Linked DNA regions of Homo sapiens: region 2 is linked to region 1. Evidence: promoter capture Hi-C in 16 types of primary human blood cells and fetal thymus (Javierre and others, 2016). All regions are on one chromosome and are shown on one strand. The core of a region is centred on a gene start or on the middle of the fragment in contact, and the rest is flanking DNA. Distances in the headings are between cores, read along the strand shown.

What was found. Contacts are between HindIII fragments. The CHiCAGO score rates a contact against its expected background, and 5 or more counts as called.
Region 2: a contact is called between a fragment that was not itself captured here and the fragment with the promoter of PLAC9 in region 1, in 1 of 17 cell types (M1 macrophages). The highest score is 5.6, in M1 macrophages.

What each region holds. Positions count from the first base shown.
Region 1 is chr10:80,129,945-80,136,865 of GRCh38, reverse strand. It overlaps PLAC9 (placenta associated 9), which reads right to left and starts at 4,136. Exons shown (of 4, transcript NM_001012973.3): 1 at 4,040-4,136. The coding sequence starts at 4,103. The HindIII fragment of the contact is 6,415 bases long and covers 1-6,191 here.
Region 2 is chr10:80,261,342-80,268,262 of GRCh38, reverse strand. No RefSeq gene overlaps it. Among named protein-coding and RNA genes, the nearest start is that of MAT1A, 25 kb to the left of the region's middle. RefSeq lists enhancers at 2,907-3,437, 3,438-3,969. The HindIII fragment of the contact is 1,723 bases long and covers 3,088-4,810 here.

The DNA.
Region 1 (6,921 bases), core at 2,887-5,386:
TAATTCTTCTGTCTTTTGGAGGCTGCAGAGAGGCCTCAAGAATTAGCTAGACGAGCTGGGCTCGGTGGTTCACACCTGTAATCCCAGAGCTTTAGGAGGCTGAGGCAAGAGGATCGCTTGAAGCCAGAAGTTTGAGGTCACTCTGGGCAACATAGTGAGACTCTGTCTCTACAAAAATAAATAAATAAATAAATAAATAAATAAATAAAATAAAAATTAAAAAAAAATTAGCCAGGATTGGTGGTATATACTTGTAGTCTCAGGTATTTGGAAAGCTGAGGCGGGAGAATCGCTTGAGCCCAGGAGTTTGAGACTACAGTCAGCTACGATTGCACCACTGCACTGCAGCCAGGGTGACAGTGAAAGACTGTGTCTTGTAAGAAAATAAATAAATGAATAAAAAATAGTAGACACGCACATGCACCACAGGGCTGTCAGTGGCTCAGACAAGGGGAGTGGAAAAGACTGAAGGATTATGATGATTAACCCTGAGCAGCCAAGGCTGTGGCTCCTCAGGGCTCCCTTCCTTCCTTTCCTCCCGCTCTCCCAGGCCCTGCCAGTTGGGAAATGGACCTCCTTGGATGCTGCGTTGTTTTCTCTGGCCCGGCTCCTGCTAGGGGCCTGATGTGCACCCTGGATGGTGGCCATGGGTGGGGCATCCTGTGCTGGTGAGAACACGCTGCTGTGGAGCCCGGAGGCCCCAGAGGAGGGCTCGGCTGGGCTGGCTGCCCCAGTTAAAGAGACGTGGCCCCTGGGTCCCATCCTCTGAGGCGGAAGTACGGGTGCTTCTACTTACAGGCCTTATGGGGAGACCTTTTGTATCTGGACCCAAACAGTAAGAAAGGGCCACAACACAGATGATTTCTGCATGCTGGGGGTTGAGAAATGTTTTCTCAGTGGCATCTGAAAGGTGCCGCTGTATCTTCTGAATTGTCAAAGTCACACTCTGCTTTGAAAAGCAACCCTGGCCACTTGGGGGTTAATTATATTTGACCACATTCAACATAATAGAATAATAAATTTACCACATCCAATATTTGTATTAAAATGTATGATTCACTCAAAACCATCCACGGGTTTTGATCATTTTTGAAAGCAGCAGAAAACTATTCTTCAAGTGATTTTATAAAAAACTCCAAAATATGGGCCGGGCGTGGTGGCTCATGGTCTAAAAAGCCATCAGGGATAAAGGTTTCTCTGAGTGCTGCTAAAAGAAACCAAGACTTGGGCCCAGCGCGGTGGCTCATGCCTGTAATCCCAGCACTTTGGGAGGCCGGGGCAGGCTGATCACTTGATGTCAGGAGTTTGAGACCAGCCTAGCCAACATGGTGAAACTCCCCCGCAGCCCCCGTCTCTACTAAAAAATGCAAAAATTAGCTGGGTGTGGTGGTGCACACCTGTAATCCCAGCTACTTGGGAGACTGAGGCACGAGAATTGCTTGAACCCAGGAGGCAGAGGTTGTGATGAGCTGAGATCGCACCACTGCACTCCAGCCTGGATGACAAAACAAGACTCTGTCTCAAAAAAAAAAAAAAAAAAAAAAGGCCGGGCGCAGTGGCTCACACCTGTAATCCCAGCACTTTGGGAGGCCGAGGCGGGCAAATCACAAGGTCAGGAGATCGAGACCATCCTGGCTAACACAGTGAAACCTCATGTCTACTAAAAATACAAAAAAAATTTAGCCGGGCATGGTTGCAGCCGTCCGTAGTCCCAGCTGCTTGGGAGGCTGAGGCAGGAGAATGGTGTGAACCCGGGAGGCGGAGCTTGCAGTGAGCGGAGATCGCACCACTGCACTCCAGCCTGGGAGACAGAGCGAGACTCCATCTCAAATAAATAAATAAATAAATAAACAAACAAACAAACCAAGGTTGGAAGTTGGACGTGCTAGAGATAGCTCTCAATTTATAGAAAATATAAGGGGTGGAGGTATTTAAATGACATAAAAGGGATGCAATTAGCAAAATCTAAATGTGGAAAACTTTACAGGACAAACTTAGTTTCTTCAACAAAAACAAAAAATTAAGTAAAAAAAGGGGAGAGAAGACTTACATATTTAAAGAGATCTAACAGACATATTGACCAAATGCAGTGTATGTAACCTTATTTGGATCAAACAAATGAATTGCAAAAAGATATGACACAATCAATCAAGGACATTTGAACAGTGATTGAATATTTAATGATATTCAATCACACACAGTTTTTGGAGTATGATCATAGCATTGCAGTTATGTTTATTAAGAGTGCTTATCTCTTAGAGGTACACAAAGAAATATTTATAGATGAAAATACATGATGCCAGGCCAGGCATTGTGGCTCACACCTGTAATCCCAGCACTTTGGGAGGCCAAGGCAGGTGGATCACTTGAGCCCAGGAGTTCGAGACCAGCCTGGCCAACATGGTGAAACCCTATCTCTACTAAAAATACCAAAATTAGTCAGGTGTGGTGGTGCGTGCCTGTAGTCCCAGCTACTCAGGAGGCTGAGGCAGGAGAATCAGTTGAACCCGGGAGACGGAGGTTGCAGTGAGCTGAGATTGTGCCACTGCATTCTAGCATGGGTGACAGAATGAAATCCTGTCTCAAAAAAAAAAAAAAAAGAAAGAAAGAAAGAAAGAAAATATACAATGCCTGGATTTCCTTTAAAATAATCCAGGGAGGGGAGAGAGGGTGGAGGCTATAGATGAGATAAAACTGCCCATGAACTGATACTTCTTGAAGCAGCGTTGATAAGTATATTACATGATTCTTTCACATACTATTACTTTGTATTTTTTTGTATCCAAAAGTTTTCATAATCAAAAGTTAAGATATATCATCTAAAATCTGAAAGATTATGCACAAAAATATATGAAATCAGTGTGAAATTACACTAATACATGAATACTTTCCTCCTTTCCTTCTTCTTTTTTTTTTTTTTTTGAAACTGAGTCTTGCTCTGTCACCCAGGCTGGATTGCGGTGGCTTGATCTCGGCTCACTGCAACCTCCGCCTCCCAGGTTCAAGTGATTCTCCTGCCTCAGCCTGCCGAGTAGCTGGGACTACAGGCATGTGCCACCACGCCCGATTAATTTTTTGTATTTTTAATAGAGACAGCATTTCACCATGTTAGCGAGGCTGGTCTTGATCTCCTGAGCTTGTGATCCGCCCGCCTGAGGGGTAGGTGAGGGGAAGAAAGCGGACAGTGAAAAGCAAGGAACCCAGCTAATGGAGTACCCAGACAGCCTCTCTCCTCCGCACAGCTCTCCACCTCCACCCAGTCCCCCATCTCCACCCAACATAGCTCAGTTTCCCAGAGAAGCTCCCTGGAAACCGGGAGGCTGACTTCTTCACTGACTGCAGATCCACCTGAGGCCACCTGGCAGGTGAATCGGTGGCCTTTCTCCTGGGCCCGACTGCCTGGTTCCTTAAGGCTGTGCTGGGCTAGCCTGGGTCACTCATCCTTTGGAGTGTGGCTTCTTATGCAATGTCCTATAAAGCCAGGCCTGAGCCTCCACAGGCCCTCTGAGATGGAGCTGGCCTCCGGGGCTGCCCCACCCAGCAGCTGTGACCTCCCACTCCAGATCCTGGCTCCTTCTCTCTTGCCAGCTCTACTCCGGGCATCGAGCTTCCCTCTCTCTCCTTTTTGGTCTCTCTCAAATCTTTCTCTTTTCTTCAATATCCTCTCTCCCTCCACCCCTTGCCATTTTAATCACTTTTTCTCTTTCCTTCTTCTCTTTTGTCTCTCAAACTCCTTTTTCTTTCTATCTTAGTTCATATCTGTTCAGGGGAAGCCTCTTTCTGTCTCAGCCTCTCCTTTTTCCTTTTCACTGTGTATTCTTCCCTATCTCCTTTATCTCTCCGTTGCTCTACTTCTCTGCCTTTTTCTGAGTCTGTTTCCTCTCAATCTTTCTCTCCATCCCTCCCTCCCTGCATCTGCCTCTCTGTCCATCTCGCTGCTGTGTCCAGCTCTCTCTCCGTCTCTCTCGCTCATTCCTTCCTCGCCATCTGCGGGTCTCCCCGGCTCCAGGTCCCCTGCCGCGCCCTGCGCCCCACTCACCGGCCAAAGAGCCCGCGGCGCGGAGCAGGGCCAGTCCGGTCAGCGCGCAGAGCAGGGGCCGCATGGTGCCGGCCTGGCCGAGCGCAGCGCCGCGTCTGCCCGCAGCCGCCCTTCCCGGATCGCACCCGGCCGGCCCGAGAGGAAATGCACTCAGTTCGAGCCAAAATTCCTGGGCGGCTCCGGACTTTCTGGCTCGAGAGAACCCGCCCCCTCCAGAGGCCCCTCGGCACCCCGTGGGCAGCGCGGAGCCCAGAGACCCCGGGAGCTGAGGCACCGACGTGCCACCTGGGCGCCTCCCGAGGAAGGGGCCGCCCCCCGAGTCCCCGCACCTCCTGGGAGCCCGGGAGGGAAGGCGGGGCGGGGGGCATTGGGTGAGGTCTTGGGCTCAAGGCGACCGAGCCTGGGGTCAGGGGTTTGTTACGAGCCAGTTTCACAGGCGGGCAGACTAAGACTCGGAGGGAAGTGTCTTCCTCGGCATCACTCTCAGCCATAGCACAGGATCTGAACCCCTGTCTCCTGGGAGTTTGGCAGCTTTTCTCTGTCTACCTACGAACAAGAAATTAATTCTAATTACATGGAACAGTGTCTGCCCCTAAGAGGGAGACCCAGAAACTCACTGCTCTGGTAAGGGAGTGATAGAAATATGAAAAGGTAATTTTAAAAAGAAAAGGTAAAATCGTAACTCTCGCAAAGATATGAAATTAGCATATACTAAAGATTTTATTCAATTCATTATTAATGAGGGGATAAGTAAGATGGTACAAGCAGCCCAAAGTTTAGAGCACAGTAGTGGAAACTTCCCCTATGGGACATGCCCATCCAACAAGTGCAACAACAAATTAAGTTTTAGTAAAAACACAAAGCAAAAAAGCTGTAGCTCTAACTTCTCTGCTGCAGAGCCCTGAGTGAGTGTCTCGTCTGGCTGTAAGTGGAACACATTCATCACCAAGCCTGGGAGAATGCCTTTGTCCATCAAGGGTCCCCGTTGGGATTACCTGGAGCTCTTGCAGATCAAGGCTGCCTCTCTGCCTTCTGTGTTCCTGGCTGTGGCTATGCAATTGTCCAAAACAGTTACCACGCTAACCAGTGATCCAGTTCTCACTCCCTCCTCCAGAGCAAGATAGTAGCCTCAGACGGAGAAATTCTGGTTCTGAGCCCGAGAATCTGAGACAGACTCAGATCTAAATCTTTTAAAAGCCTTCAAGGAGATTATGATGCCCACATGAGCTGGCTCAGAAGAAGAATTTATTTCAGGAATGCCAAAAATTTCTCACGCTTGGTGGTAGGACATTCCTTGATAGTTTCGCCAGGTGGGAAAAAAAGTTGTCAAAGAACTGCCCAACTCATAAGGATTCTTGTAGCTTAGAGCCAGTGGGCTACCTTATATTTTGAATTTAAGACTAAGAAAACACACACACACACAAAAACATATACAATACATTATTGTTGCGGTAGAGCATAAAGTAATTAAGTATACAGAGTAAAACATGAAAGTCTTTTCTGTTACGAATTCCCTCCGTCCAATGATTCAGGTCCAGTCCCCTCAACTTGGTAGGCTCTGCCTGTTCCACGTCTATGCATTCCCCATCTACCTAATGTATATTCAGACACAAATGTATATACATGAGATCAAGTCATAGATATTTTGAAGATTTGCTTTCATTCATGTTTATCTCAGTCATAACATTAAATCTTGGCTGGGTGCAGTGGCTCACGCCTGTAATCCCAGCACTTTGGTAGGCCGAGGTGGGTGGATCACCTGAGGCCAGGAGTTTGAGACCAACCTGGCCAACGTGGTGAAACTCCGTCTCTGCTAAAAATACAAAAAATTAGCAGGGCGTGGTGTTGGGCGCCTGTAGTCCCAGCTACTCAGGAGGCTGAGGCAGGAGAATCAGAACCCAGGAGGCGGAAGTGGCAGTGAGCCAAGATTGCACCACTGCACTCCAGCCTGGGCAACAGAGCAAGACTCCATCTTAAAATAAAAGAAAATAATCTTGGAGATCAGTCTATGTGGGTACAGATAAATCCACTTCATTCCTTTTAAGAGTTAAAATATCCCATGAATGGATACAAGGAGCATTATTTATCCAAACAGTCCCCTATTGACAGACATGTAGATTGCTTCCTTTTTCTCTCCAATATAAAATAAGCTTTAATAAACATTCCTTTGCATATATCTTCATGTACGTAGTACATATTCCTGTATGTACATATTTCTGAAAGGCTGGAAGAGGAATCATTGCGTCAAAGGCCTTTTACATTTTGCCAGATAGGCCAAAAACTGTTCCCCAAATTGTTACTAAGCCCACAGGAGGGGCAAGGGGTCTTCCAGCGCTGTTCCAAGGTGCACCTGAGCATGTTAGTCTAGGTAGGAATTGGGCTGCAGGGGGCGCCATTTACATAAAATACTTCTGCGCTGGGCGCGGCGGCTCACGCCTGTAATCCCAGCACTTTGGGAGGCCGAGGCGGGTGGATCACGAGGTCAGGAGATTGAGACCATCCTGGCTAACATGGTGAAACCCCGTCTCTACTAAAAACACAAAAAATTAGCCGGGCGTGGTGGCGGGCGCCTGTAGTCCCAACTACTCGGGAGGCTGAGGCAGGAGAATGGCATGAACCCGGGAGGCGGAGCTTGCCGTGAGCCGAGATTGCGCCACTGCACTCCTGCAGTGTCACCCACTGCACTGGGTGACAGAGTGAGACTCCGTCTCAAAAACAAAACAGAACAAAAAAACAAAAAAAACCCTTCTGGATTGGAGATACCTGAAGTGTAAACCTATCAGTCACCTACATTCTCCAACACTGGATATTTATTATTTAAAATTTTGACAGCTTGATGATGGAAAATGTTACCTTGTTGTTATTGTTATTTACATGCTACT
Region 2 (6,921 bases), core at 2,700-5,199, 130 kb before region 1:
AGAGGAAATCAACCCAAGGGAACAGGAGAGCTTACAACCTCAACAGTGGAGTCCCTATAATATGGGAGGTTTGTCAGACACTTTCATGTGACTCTTATGGGACAGGATGGAAATCAGAAGCCAAATAATTTGCTGTCTTAGTCTTTTCAGGCTGCTATAACAAAATAACAAACGGGGTGGCCTATAAATAACAGAAATTTGTTTCTCACAGTTCTCGTAGCTGGAAGTTTGAGAGCTGGGTGCCAGCATGGTTGGTTCTGGAGAGGTCCCACTTCTGGGTACAAATGGCCAACTTCTCATTGCATCCTCACACGGCAGAAAGAGGGTGAGAGAGCTGGGGTGTGTGTGATAAGGGCACCAATCCCATTTATGAGGGCCCCGCCTCTGAAAGGTCCCACCTCCTGATATCACATTGGAGGTTAGGATTTCAACATCTGAATTTGGGGGGACACAAACATTGACTCCATAACACTTGCCAAATCTGATTTCTTAAAAATGAAATTCTTGTGCATTAGGAAAAAGCCACAAGTAAGGGTAAAAGATAAGTGACAGAGTAGAAAATATTTGAATGGAGTGAACCGCAGCTCAATAAGAAAGCAATACAAGCCCCAGTAGGAAATGGAAAAAACTAGACGGATAGGAATAAGTAAATATAATCAAAGAAATGGAGAAAGTCAGGAGAAACAAAGGTTGCTCAATTGTACTTGTTTCAAAAAATAAACACTTTAAAAAATGCAACATTGTATTTCGGCAAACAGATGGCGAGAAAAAAAAAAGAAAGGAAAGAAAAGAAATAAATAAAAAGATTTGAAGACAGTGTGGCGATTCCTCAGGGATCTAGAACTAGAAATACCATTTGACCCAGCCATCCCATTACTGGGAATATATCCATAGGATTATAAATCATGCTGCTATAAAGACACATGCACATGTATGTTTATTGCAGCACTATTCACAATAGCAGACTTGGAACCAACCCAAATGTTCAACAACGATAGATTGGATTAAGAAAATGTGGCACATATACACCATGGAATACTATGCAGCCATAAAAAATGATGAGTTCATGTCCTCTGTAGGGACATGGATGAAGCTGGAAACCATCATTCTCAGCAAACTATCACAAGGACAAAAAACCAAACACCTCATGTTCTCACTCATAGGTGGGAATTGAACAATGAGAACACTTGGACACAGGAAGGGGAACATCACACACCGGGGTCTGTTGTGGGGTGGGGGGCGATAGCATTAGGATATATACCTAATGTAAATGACGAGTTAATGGGTGCAACACACCAACATGGCCCATGTATACATATGTAACAAACCTGCACGTTGTGCACGTGTACCCTATAACTTAAAGTATAATAAAAAATTTTAAAAAAAAAAGAAAAAGAAAAAGGTTTTTAAAATCCAGGGCTGGCAAAGATATAAGGAAATAGATATCCCCAAACACAGTTGATCGGTATAACTTGGTACAGACTTTCTGGATGAAAATATGGTTCTTCTTGAAATGTAAATGTCATGTCTGCCTAGTTTGACCTTGCGGTCAGAGGTGGCATCAAGATAGAGACAATCGCTTTGCTCCCAGGCCTAGGGGACAGAACCCCAGGAGGGCAAGGTCAGCGTGTGCTGAATGGACTGGGGGATGGGGTGGGTGGATCTTAGGGAAGCATCCATTCTGGGCCACCAAAGCAGGGCTTCTCTCCTGCCCCAGGGTTGAGGTGGCTGCCTCTGGGGTGTTTGCAGGAGTGCCCACAGAAAGGCCCTGGGACACAAGGCCTGGCTGGGAGGAGCCCCCTCCTTCACAGGCCAAGACTGCAACTGCGGAGCCAGTCACAACAGCCTAAGAGGACAGGAATTCCTTTCCTCGGAGGCTGTCAGAATCCCAAGTGACCAGGAGGAAACAGGCTCTGGCAGGGGAAGACACTTTGGAGGACCACCCACTCAGAGAGCAGATTGTGTCCGTGGGCAGGATGGGAGCTAAGAGTGGGAGCCGGCTGGATCTCCCTCCACTTCCTCGAGATCTGCCCAGGACACTGCCTGGTTCCCGCTGCTCTGGAGGGACTGTTCCCGGGCTGTGAAGTCCTGGGATCCCGCTGTTCCTTTAGTTCTGAACAGTGTATTCTCCAGCAGGAGGGGCAGCCCTGGACTCCCAGGCTCTGTGCAGGCTTCCCAGAAGCCTCTCTGGGAGGAGTGGGGGCCACTGCCTTCCACTTCCCGTGGCAGCCCCTGGCCCTGGCCTCCTCCAGGGCTCTGCAACCCTCTTCAGGCCCCCTGGCATGGTATCCATGCCCTCCTCGGGAGAGTAAGTGGGGTGGGATGAGGTGGAGGCCGCGACCTGTATAGACAACCCAGGGCTGTTCCATCTTCACCCTTGGGCGAAAAGTAGCCCAGCAGCAGCTTCAGGGCCCCACCTCCCAACCCCCACCAGGCCGACCCCACTCCCACTTCCTGGGCTGCCCCGCCCCTCCCAGCAGGCATGGCCAGCTCTCTCCACCTCTAGCACTGAGCTCTACAAAGCAGCTCTGAACTTAGTTCTCTTCTATGTCTTTGGTTTTCTGTTTGATCTCATCTTTAATTGTATATTTCTGCTCCTCTCTTAAAAGAAAGGAAAGAAGCCATTTTTTTTTGTTTTTGGATTTTTGCATCAAAGCCTTCACAGTTTCTAAGACATTTTAATTCGTTTTGATCTCATTTCTGTTTCTCTGCTTTCCTTGTGTTTCTTTTCCATTTTTAACTTTCTGAACTGAATGTTGGTTTTGGTGGCTTTTTGATCCAAAATGGCTTATGGGGGAGTCATAAAATTCCTATGTGGCTGTTTTTCCTCAATTTTTCACTCATTTCTAGTTTCATTGACACGTTATTAATAGAAAATAATCTCTATTATTTGTACTTTCCAAACACATTTTTGAGATTTTCATTGTAGTCCAAAATGATGAATTTTAGTGTTATATGATCACCTGATGTTATCAGTGTATAGATTTGCATTTATTTCAATTTGTTAAATATTTAAAATTATATAATATATACATGTATATTTTTAATTATATATTTCAGGTATTTTGTGGACAGGGATTTTAAGCTTTCCTTAGGGAAGCAACTGACAAGAGAGAACAAGAAAGTGTGAATTCTGAGGAAGGGCAAGGGATGGTTTTGGGCCTCATCACTCACTCACTCACTCACTCACCTGTTCCTTCCTTCCGCGGCATTCCTTCCCTCCTTCCACTGAGAACCAAGCCGCCCCAGGCCCGCCCCGGACCCCTGGGGCCTGCGGTAAGGAGTGCAGTTATTTTGTGTGGACATATGTGCTCCACGCCAGCAGCCGGAGGAAGCCTTCCAGGCAGAGAGAACAGGGAGCGCTCAGGATGGGGAGAGTGCTCTGGGGCCACAGGAGGGGGTTCAGCAGAGGGCAGGGTGGAGGGTGTGATTCTATTGTCGCTGTGCCCCCACGCCTCTCCAGTGATAGTCTGCCCTGTTGCCAGGCACGGGTGTGGTTCTGGGCAGACCGTGGTCAGTGGTCTCAGTGTTTCGGCCCAGCTGGCCATGGTGGCTGCAAGAAGCTCTGCAGCAGCCTGGGAAATGGGGGAGGACCTTCAGCCTCGCGTGAGCTGCTTTATTGGTGAACCCAGCAGACTCCATGGAGCTTGAGGCAGAAGCAGGTGAGCACAAGTTTTGCTCGGCCTGGATCACCCTGGGAGGTGGTGAGGGTGTCATGGTATGCGTGTGGTGAAAGTTCTCTTGTTTTTGACAGACTTGTTTAACCAGGGGATGAAAGACATTCTGTGCAGAGATCAGGGACGTGCCACTGCAGTCCAGCAGTAGTTCAGTGGAATGTAAAACCCTCACCGAGTTTCACCTCGAGACAGAGGAGGTCAAAGCCCAGGAGTGCCTGCTGCCCTGGATGGGTCCAGCTTGTGATCTGGAGTTACAGAAGGTGACTTGAGGCTCTTGAAGAAAAGCTGGAGGGAACTGTTTCTTATTCTCAAAGCCAGATTCTGTGTCTCGAATGGAAACTCATGATCATTGGTGGAGAGCATGGGAGGCTGAAAGAAACCTCATCATCTCCAGACAAGAGGCACAGTCCCGAGGCAAGGAAAACGGACACAGTGATTCCCCGAGTTTCTGGACATGGATCCTCAAGCAGCTGATAACCCAGATGGAGCGTGATTGGGGGCATTTGCCCTCTGACCTCCAGGCGTGGACGCAGCCTCCTCTGACACTCCCCTCCCTTTATACCCCACCTCAGCTGCCAGCCTTTCCTCTGCCCTCTTCCCCTCCATTCCCAGAGCCTATGTTTCCAGTGAACTCAAATGTGGAGTTCATGGGAAGGAGACATCCTCTTCTGTCCCCTTCTCCAGGAAGCCTGGGTGAACTCCTGAGCCAGCTTCCATGAAGGGCTGCTTTCCTCCTTATCCCCACTCAGGGGCTGGAGCCCCCACCCAGAAAATGGGAAAGAGTTGCTTTCTGGCTTCTCATTGAGCCACCACATGATCCTGCCAGTCCAAATGCCCAATTACCACCAGGCCCTACATAATTTCTCAAATTTTCCCAAATGTATTTTTGAATTATTTATGAGGGGGCTTCAAAAAGTTCATGGAAAATGTGTATTATGAAAAAACTGTGCATGGACTTCAAATTTTTTTTACACCAAAATAAACTCACACTAACTTGTTATAATATTTCTGAATAGGGTCTAGTTTGAGGCACTGAGAAGGATCAGAGATTGGCTTGATAAGAGCACCTACCAGAGCAACATGAATTCTGTGAAAATTGAAGTAAAAACAAACATTAAATTCATGGTGAAGCTTGGGTGGAAGAATGGTGAAGTCATGGATGCTTTACCAAAAGTTTATGGGGACAACATCCCCCCCCCCAAAAAAATCAGCAGTTCACAAATGGAAAACACATTTTAAGAAAGGAAGAGATTTGAGACCAGCCTGGCCAACATGGTGAAACCTCATCTCTTCTAAAAATACAACAATTAGCTGGGTATGGTGGCATGCACCTGTAATCCCAGCAACTTGGGAGGCTGAGGTAGGAGAATCACTTGAACCCGTGAAGCAGAGGTTGCAGTGAGCTGAGATCATGTCACTGCACTCCAGTCTGGGTGACAGAGCAAGACTCCATCTCAAAAAAAAAACAACAACAAAAAAAAACCACAAGATTATGTGGAAGATGAAGTCCACAGCGGTAGACCATCCATATCAATTTGTAAGGAAAAATATTCATCTTCTTCATGCCATAATTGAAGAGGATCAATGATGAACAGCAGAAAAAGACCCAACACCATGGACAGATCAACTGCAGACAGGAGGGGAGATTTAGATGAAAATTTTAAACAAGTGGGATTAAGATCCTGAAGCATTTCTTCAAAGAATTGTAACAGGAGATGGAACTTGGCTTTCCCAGTACAATGCTGAAGACAAAGCACAATCAGAGCAATGGCTACCAAGAAGCAGAGGTGACCTAGTCACAGCAAAAGCAGACAGGTGAAGAGCAAAGGTCAGGGCAACAATTTTCAGTGATGCTCAAGGCATTTTGCTTGTTGACTTTCTGGAAGGCCAAAGAACAGTGACATATGCTTATTACGAGTGTTTTGAGAGAATCACAGCTTTAGGAGAAAAATGCCCAAGAAAGCTCCACCAGAGAGTTCTCTATCATGACAATGATCCTGCTCATTCCTCTCATCAAACAAGGTCAATTTTGCGAGTTTCAATGGGAAATCACTAGGTATCCACCTTACAGTCCTGATTTGGCTCCTTATGACTTCTTTTTGTTTCCTAATCTTAAGAAATTATTTAAAGGAGACCCGTTTTTCTCCATTTAATAATGTAAAAAAGACTGCCTTGACATGGTTAAATTCCCAGGATCCTCAGTTCTTTGGAGATGGACAAAATGGACGATATCATCACTTACAAAAGTGTCTTGACCTTGATAGAACTTGAGAGAAATAAAGTTTATATTTTTTATTCTTGTCTTTTAATTTCATTTTCCCACAAACTTTTAAAAGTCCCTTATATTTGTTTTTAATTTAAAAGCCTCTTTTATATGTGCTTTACTTTTCCTCAAATGATACATCAATAGTATTATACATATATGAATAAAATTTGGTAAATAATGGTTATTTAAATTATTCTCATTATAAGTTCTAGAAAACAGAAGGAGTTAATTTTAATTTTATGATGTAGTCCATTATTTCCAAAACTATGCTATTATCTGGGAGCATTTCGACCACCAGAAACATTTGAAATATCAGAACACTTCCTCTCTGCCAATGCTTCTGTGTTGCTCAGTGATAAGACAACAGTGGAGGCTAGTTGTCAGTCTCCATAAATGTAAAAGAATGGTTTGACTGTGCTGACATTCTAAAGGGTAGGTGGCTCCTGGTCTGGGCCCAGCAGGGCTGCTGCCCCCTGGCTGTAAGGGTCCTGGCCAGAGCTGGACTGAGCTTAGCTGTTCAAGGCAATGAGAGGTTGGTACAGGCTGGGATTCCTCTTCACCAGCGCATCTGGCTTACTGGGCCCTCAGATTCTTCATTTGGGGTAAAAAGCCTGCCCCAGTGTCATCACCATCTGTACAATGCGTGTGCTAAAGGCCTCAGGGCAGCCTGGGCGAAGCGCTGGGGTGTCTGCAGCTTGAGGACTAGGGGTTGGGATGCCATGCTGAGCCAGGATCAAGCCTGCCCAGGGATAGATATGCACACCTTATAGGTAAAAAGCAAGGCTGGATCCTCAGGGTGATATAGTGAGCAGTCCTAGGACCTGAGGTTCAGACCAGGTCCACCTTGCAGTGTGAAAGGCCAGGTGAGCCTGACCAGGCTGGGCCTGGTCCGTAACTGTGGTCATTGTGGACCGAACACACTCTGGCATCTTCAGGGAAACCTGAACAGAGATTCTGGGGTCAGGGGGAACAAGGTTT